Regions from separate parts of the Homo sapiens genome. Here region 1 is linked to region 2. Evidence: promoter capture Hi-C in human tissues and cell types (Jung and others, 2019). All regions are on one chromosome and are shown on one strand. Each heading gives the region's core, a stretch centred on a gene start or on the middle of the fragment in contact. The rest is flanking DNA. Distances are from core to core; before and after follow the strand shown. Region 1 has its middle 5.8 kb from the start of ARHGAP21. Region 2 holds the start of GPR158 (G protein-coupled receptor 158).

Evidence for each region. Contacts are between HindIII fragments. The study calls those that stand out against the background at their distance.
Region 1: a contact is called between a fragment that was not itself captured here and the fragment with the promoter of GPR158 in region 2, in 1 of the 25 tissues and cell types used here (dorsolateral prefrontal cortex).

What each region holds. Positions count from the first base shown.
Region 1 is chr10:24,727,756-24,731,624 of GRCh38, reverse strand. No RefSeq gene overlaps it. Among named protein-coding and RNA genes, the nearest start is that of ARHGAP21, 5.8 kb to the right of the region's middle. The HindIII fragment of the contact is 4,272 bases long and covers 152-3,869 here.
Region 2 is chr10:25,173,376-25,177,283 of GRCh38, reverse strand. It overlaps GPR158 (G protein-coupled receptor 158), which reads right to left and starts at 2,283. Exons shown (of 11, transcript NM_020752.3): 1 at 962-2,283. The coding sequence starts at 1,863. GPR158-AS1 (GPR158 antisense RNA 1) reads left to right here and starts at 1,008. Exons shown (of 2, transcript NR_027333.2): 1 at 1,008-1,608. The HindIII fragment of the contact is 11,687 bases long and covers 1-3,908 here.

The DNA of each region.
Region 1 (3,869 bases), core at 1,038-3,537, 450 kb after region 2:
CTTATTTCTAATTCATGTATTATTTCTGCAACGGTATGATTTTTCCCTCTCAATACCTTCTCTTAGCCATTCTAACATCTTTTATATTTCATTCATTCTCTTGTGATTTCACTTTTGATATATTTTATTTTCTTCGGGGTATGAAACATTTGTCTCTATATTTCTTCTGCTTACTGGGGTTAATCTTCTTCCATAATATATCTTTTCTTTTTAGAATATATTCCTTTATTTCATCTCTTCCCCAATATCACAATTTAAAATGTTTATGTCAGTCTTATTTCCTTTTCATTCATCTTTGATGAATATTTACTATCTAAAATTTCTATTTATATTGAAAGAAACAGGGTGGATGAATTATCTTTGAGGACCCCAGGCTTCTTGTTGGATTCAAGCAATGAGGAGCCACAGAAGAAAGCTGGAAGGAGGCATGAGAATGGGTTCGTAAAATGTGGTATGAGATTGGGCCCCTTCATAGTTTTAGTGTTTGTTTTTTTCTTTTTTACTTCGTAATTTTTAAAAATTAAAATATAATTGAAAAAATCTTTGAGGAGAAAGGTTATGTAAGCCTGCCATCTATCCTACTTAAGCCCAGATGTGAATTACCACATATTGCCCTGCGATCTTTTCCTATCTGAGGGAAGAAGCCTTGGTTAGTTGACTTTTGGATTAATAAGGAATGCAAGCAATTATAGGGATAGAGGAATGGAATCTACAGTGCTAGACAATATTGAAAGATACTCAGAGTTTCTTGAATCAAGGAATAGAGAAGTCTTTAGGTGTCTTTCCTGATTCTGCTCAATGACAATGAAAGGGAAGGCTAGAACTTTTTATTTTTTTTGATGAAAAGATTTGATTACTTTGGATTAGGCCTATGATATTAAAAATCAACTGCTAGCACAGTTTCCTAGTTAAAATGTTTGGAATTTAGCATTCTATTCCAAAATGATAAAAACATATTTCAATTCTCCAGTTGTAATATGGGTTTCTCCAGATTGCACTGTATTTTCACAATGTTCCAACTCATATTTAGTTGGGTGGGTGGAAACATTTTAAAAACTAGTCTCATATTTTTAAGGAAAGTTGGAATACTTATAAATGAAAGTCACGATTCTTAGGATAAAATAAAAACTTGCACATGGATTTTTTATTCATATTTTTTCTTAAAACATATAAATAAACTTAACAATGTTGATGACTATGACTAGCATACCACTAAATTTTAATTATGGAAATTCTAATGCTGAATAATAATTTGGATCTAAAGAAAACTTTTGATATATGATTATGGATAAGCTTTGGGGTGAAATTTTATAGTTTCTACCAAAATGTAAGTGATATTAATTTTTAGGATGGTCTTATGGCTGAAAAACAGCTAAATCGCTGGCAGTGAAGTTTATTTATTTATTTATTTGAGATGGAGTGTCACTCTGTCAACCAGGCTTGGCCCTGCCTCCCAGGTTCAAGCAATTCTCCTGTCTCAGCCTCCTGAGTAAGCTGGGATTACAGGACCGTGCCACCATGCCCAGCTAATTTTTGTAGTTTTAGTAGAGATGGGGTTTTACCATGTTGTCCAGGCTGGTCTCGAATGTCTGACCTCAAGTGATCCACCCACTCGGGCCTCCCAAAGTACTGGGATTACAGGTGTGAGCCACAGCGCCTGGCCAGAGAAGTTTCGATAAGGAGATAAAATGTGGCATTTCCGAAAGTTGAGGCCCATACCAAGTGTTCTCTTTGTGGATACCTCTTATAATTTACACTCTTTGTTTTAGGCATATTCACATAGGCCTATACATATATCTTCCTGTGACCTGTACTGTTATTGGACCTGTACAGCCAGGAATTTCTTGAGGTATAAATATTTATCAATAATAGTGACATAACCATCTTTTATTTCTTGAATAATTCTGTAGTAATTTCTATGTGTAAAAGATGTGGTAGATATTGTGGGGATGTGAAAGTAGTAAAAGCTCCAGGAATCTCCTCTAGAGAAGTTTATAATCCAGATTAAAAAAGGAGATAATATTTAGCTAAATAAGATTTATTATTTTTTTCCCACAATATATCCGTGTAACAAAAGAAGATTGTTTATAATCAAGTAACAGCAACAAACAAACAAACAAACAAACCCAAAAATAAACACCAGTATTCTAGTCCAGAGGAGGAAAAGATGACAATAAACTGAGGGCAGATAAATTATTCAAGAATATTTATTGTGTGTGGCACTTTACTAGGCATTGTATATAATGAATTAAATAATGTCATTGCCTTCTAGAAATTAATCATCAAAGATAGTAATCATGTGGAGAGAAATAATAAGATACATATTTAGCAAATGCAGAACAATAAATTAGTAAATCATTTACATTATTTGTTTAAAAGAGATGAAGGAAGAGTCCTAGAAATTGCTGATTGTGGAGAATCATTCCCTTCTCTCAATTACAATAGTTAAATGCCTTGCAAGTGTGGTGGGATTTCTGTAGCTATTCAGTTCAACATGAAAATCTTTTGCTTTTTTTGTCCAGGCATGGTGGCTCACGCCTGTAATCCCAGCACTTTGGGAGGGCGGGGTGGGTGGATCACCTGAGGTCAGGAGTTCGAGACCAGCCTGGCCAACATGGTAAAATTCTGTCTCTACTAAAAAATACAAAAATTAGCTGGGTGTGGTGGTGCATGCCTGTCGTCCCAGCTACTGGGGAGGCTAAGGCACGAGAATCCCTTGAACCCAGGAGGCAGAGGTTGCAGTGAGCCAAGATCACACCACTGCACTCCAGCCTGGATGACAAAGTGAGACTCCGTCTCAAAAAAAAAAAAAAAGTCTTTTGCTCTTTCAAAGTAATATTAGCATGTAATGTGTCTTTTTGGTAATGTGTGAATAAGAAATAAACAAAACAAAACCCCTTACTCTTCTGAGGGCTATTGGTCTTAACGTAGTTTTGCAAAGGCTTCAACCCAAATTGCAAATTTCATTTGTGGATTCACTAGCAAACACTTGTGCTTCTCAGATGTGCCAGCTTCTGTTAACATATTCAGAGTAGAAATCATTCATAGATTATCATAGAATGGCCTTCCACACCAGGGGCTGGGATACTTTGCCTCTATTTTTGGCTTTGACATTTTTTCCCTTGATATTGGTTCACCAAAACAATATTATGTCATTAGCAAAGCCAACACTTACCTTTTAAGGATACAGTTCTCATCTTCATAAATGTCTTGCCTAGATTTAGTGTATAAAGCTTTCTTGTAGTTTTTATTAATATAGCTATAGTAATTTCAGAGGCTATTTCAAAGGATACTCCAAGAAGTTTGATTATAGGAAACCCACACATTTATTAGCTATACTCTAAGGAGGAAAATAGCCTTTCAAAGCAAACAAAGCTAGAATTACTGTTAGCTCTTGCTTATCCATGATATTTGAGGATAAAGAAAACTATCAAGATAGCAACCAGTTAGTTTCAATCTCCTTTCAGTTACAATGGCCCCAAAACCTATTGTTTCACCAAATCTCTCACTGAAACTAACACGTAGCCGCGTGACTGAAGTTTGGCCCCCTTTCCTTTCCCTTGCCCTCCCTCTGGTGGAGGTGTTTACAAGTGAGATGTCCACGATGGGCAGCTAAAGAGAATTCCAAGGGCTTGCACCCTCCACCAATTACGCCAATTAGCCTTTGGAATGGAGAAAAACCAGCTGCAGGCTTCCTCTTTCCAGATGCGTGGGGGGCCACACTCACTTTTTGGTCTGGTCAGAAGGCATCCAAATGATGACCAAGCGCGGTGGCTCACGCCTGTAAACCCTGAACTTTGGGAGGCTGAGGCATCATTTGTTCAAGACCAGTCTGGGTAACGTGGTGAAACCCTGTCTCTACGGGGTGG
Region 2 (3,908 bases), core at 1,034-3,533:
AAAGGTTGCTTCTAGAAATTCCCCGCCTCAAAGGTCAGGCACTTCCCAGGCAGAAGTTAAAACCTGTTAATTTGCAAATTCTCTGCTTCCCTCAAATGCTATAGTTTGAGACAGGAAGTACAGACTCCCTTAAGTTTCCTCCAGCCTCCTTGAGTGAATTCAGTCACAACTGATGCCTCCCTCCCGAATATAACTAGGTCCTTTTATAAATCATGTGAGTGTGTGAAGGGCTGGAGAACCCTTAAGTATGCCTAAGACAGGGAAGAGGAGGAAAAGGCCACCGAGGAAGGAAAGATCAATTGCGGGGAGAGGGGAGACCGGTAGAAGGAGCACCCTGACCAAGCTGCAAAGTCTGGATCCCAGAGACAGCTAGCTGCTGGGACTGACTCACTGCTGAGGGGCCGGAACTGCGAGGAGATGGCACAGTTTTAATTATAAGCTCTGACTAACAACAGACCGGTGCCCCCAACTGCACACGTAGGAAGCAGGCAGAGGCTACCCCAAAGTGGCAGAAACAAGGAACTCTCTGTTCCTCCTGCTCCCTTTTCGCCTCTCATCTGAGGCTTGCCACTCCGCGGACACACCCGGCGCTCGCCAAGTTGTCGCATCGCCCCCCGGTGGGGAACGCCCCTCCCTGCTCTCCGGACAATTGGAGGGAAGCACAGAGCAGCGGGGGTGTCTCCGTCCTGCCAAGGGCTGCCTGTCCCTCGCCCAGTGCGGGGAAACTGGTCCGAGAGAATGAATGGCTTTCGCCGAGCGCCGGAAGCTGACGGGCGTGGGGCGCTTCTTGCCCCCAAGCACCCGCGCCCGCGTGGGGTGTCCCTCAGCCCGGGTCTCTACTCTGAGGGTGAGAAGCGTTCGCGTCACAGCCAAGGGTTCCTTCCTCACACGTGCACCCACCCACAAGACCGGAAGGAAAGCTTCGCTTTTGCCTTCCCCCCTGCCCCCCGGCCCTCCCTACCTGAATTCCGGGACCAGGTTAGGCTGCAACCCGTAGATGGCAGAGGAAAGAGTAACCAGCCACCCGGGCTTGTAACTCCCGTTCTCGCACTCCAGATAAGGCGGAGACCACTTGAAGTGGCTCTTGTCCCCGCCGAGCCCGTCCTTGCGCCGCCAGCTGTGGCCCAGGCCCCGGGGCCCCTGATTGGGGCCGCGGCGGTGTAAGTGGGGCCTCCACTTGCGCCGGAGGCCGTGGAACCACTCGGTCTCCAGAGTGGCGTTGGCCAGGTGGGGTGCGGAGGAGGACAGGTCTTGGAGCAGGATGCGGCTCTCCTCGCGCGTGGCCTGGAGGAAGACCTGTGGGGCCGGTGCGGACAGCGAATCGGTGCTGAAGGTGATGGCCGCCCGGGAGATGCTGGGCTCGCCCTCCAGAAGGCTCCACACCAGCGCCTGGTACCAATCCAGGTCGTCCTGCAAGTTCTGCTCCCGCGACTTATTGCTCTGCAGCATCACGTTGAGGAAGTTGGTGGCGTGTGTCAGTGTGTCCAGCGCCCGGTGCAAGGAGGGGTGCGCGCTGGCCAGGGCTGGCCACTTCCCCGGCAGGCCCGCCAACTCGTAGCGGCCGGAGCAGTTGGCTCGCTTCAGCTGGTGGGAGTCCCCGGTGTAGAGGTAAGAGGCCACGTCCATGGGCACCTCCTCGGCGAGTTTCTGCGCCAAGATGGTGCCATCGGTGGAGCGGCTCCAGGGAGCCGAGGAGTCCGAGGCAGAGGCTCGACCCGGCTGCTGGGCGTGCGGCTTCCCCTTCGGGGTCCTCTCTCGAGGGGAATCCGGCCGTCCTTGGGGGTCGCGGCTGGCGCCAACAGCTCCCAATCCCAGCTGAGCAAGCAGGAGGCAGAGGAGTAAGGGGTAAGCCATGGCTCCCATCTGCCTCCCAGAGAGAAGAGGAGGGAACGGGAGGGGGGGGAATCACTTTTTAAATTTGGATCGTCAGTTTCTCAACAGTCAGACTTTTTCGAGGAGTCTTCCCCCTTCTCCAGATGGCACCCAGTCCAAAGGACTTGAAAATAAGAATGTTTCGAGATTGGCCCCGGGTGGCTAAGCTACCGTCGCAGAAATCAAGTCACCTGTGGCAGCGCTGGCCGTGCCCGCTGCGCGAGGGGCCGGCTGGGGATTACGCACCTCGCAGCCTGGAGCCGAGCGGGTTACATGGCCTCGCGCTCCCAGCGGCTGGAGTCAGCCCGAGTCCGTCTCTCGGCCCGGCTGCCGCCACCGCCGCTCTCATTGAGGCGCGTTCAGAAGCTGCTGCTGCTGCTGCCGCCGCGGCCGCCGAAGACGCTGCTCCATAGTCTCACCCGCCGCAGGTCGTTCCCGCCTCCCGGCACTGGCTCCTCCTCGACCGCTTCGCCCGGAGGCGCGGGGCGCGCGCCCAGACCCGCACCGCGAGCGCAGCCGCGACTCCCGAGGAGCGAAGACGTCCTTTAAGACGTTCGTCTGTCCGGAGTAGCGAAGGCCGGGCGGCTGGTTAATTGCAGCCTTTAGGTTTGGCCGCAAACCACACTCCACCCTCTCTCCCTGCTCCCTCCTCGGGGGAGGAAAGCCAGTTTAAAGAGGCAGCTTGGCCGCAACCAAACCCTTGTAGGGCGGCTGCAAGTCGTCTTGTTCCCTGTTTGGTCGGCTCCTCTGTCAATCAGCCGACTGCCATTTGTGGGGCCGGGGAGGGAGCTGTCCAGTGCTGAACCCGAGGCGGCCCGCGGGCGGCGGGGGCGCGGGAGGCAGCCTGCCGAGTCCTCGCACCCACTCGCGTTCCGGATGACTCGGAAACCTGCGTGGGTGGCGTAGGGTGGGCGGCAGAGGGGGGAGAAGCAGAGATTCGGTGGCTCAGAGCGAAGGAAACTTGGACGTACTGAGGGGGAGGGTGTTGGCGTCTTGCATGCTTAGTTAAATCAGCCTTTTGCCTGGAAAAGAGGGAGAAGGGAGTAGTTTTCATTTCTAGGTGAAATTAGACAGAAGGGACATAGGATGGAGACGTGTCCTCCTGAGCATCTGCTCATTTTAGGCAAATTATCAAATCATCTTTCTTGTTGTCAGTTAAAGAAATGATTAAAACATACTTGTCTAGGCTCATCTTAGCTGAGGGAGTAATGGAGAAATCTACCAGCTGTGCTTTAAGGAGAGAAAAAAAAGTCATATTTAAGGAATCTCTGCTTGGGGGCCAGAATGGAGGGGAACGTGTAAAAATGTATGCAAGTAAAGATGTGTAAGGGAGAGAGCAAGGGGGAGGACTCATGAGCTCTGGGAGAATGAGAAGGAGCCTGTGTTGAGTGAGAAGGGAAATCATCCTGACTGGGAGTTCCTGGAATTGAGAGATAAGAACTAAGACTTCTATTTAGCTAAAGGTTGGGATATCCCAGCAGAAGAAAGAAGAACTGAGCAAGTATGCCAAGTCCCCCAAATTATTGGTAAATTTCTTAACACAATCTAATTGATGTTTTGACGCTTATTAGAGAATTTAAGTGTCTTCTGACACTCCAAAAGTAGACTGGTACCAGAAAAGTAGTGTTTTGCACAGCTAGCTCCACTTTCCATATGCACCTCTATTTTCAAATTCCCCAAGAAAGACACAAATAGAAAATATCCAACTTACTTTAATTCCCAACTAACAAAAATGTCCCTCATGGCATTCTAAGCAGGCACTGCTTAGATTCACTGTACTATTTCATGTCATCCTTCCTATTGAGAAAATACTTAAGGACTGGAATGTAAGCTCCAAAAGAGCAAAAATCTTTGTCTGCATTGGTCACTGAGGTACCTTGAGCACCCAGAACACTACCTGGCACATAGTAGGCTCTGGCTAAATAGTTGCTAAATTAGTGAATGAATGGGAAGATCATGATGATGAAGCTAACTTAAAAATCAATCTCCTCACCCAAGAAGAGAAGTCTGCCTGACACACCAGTGATGAGGGTTTT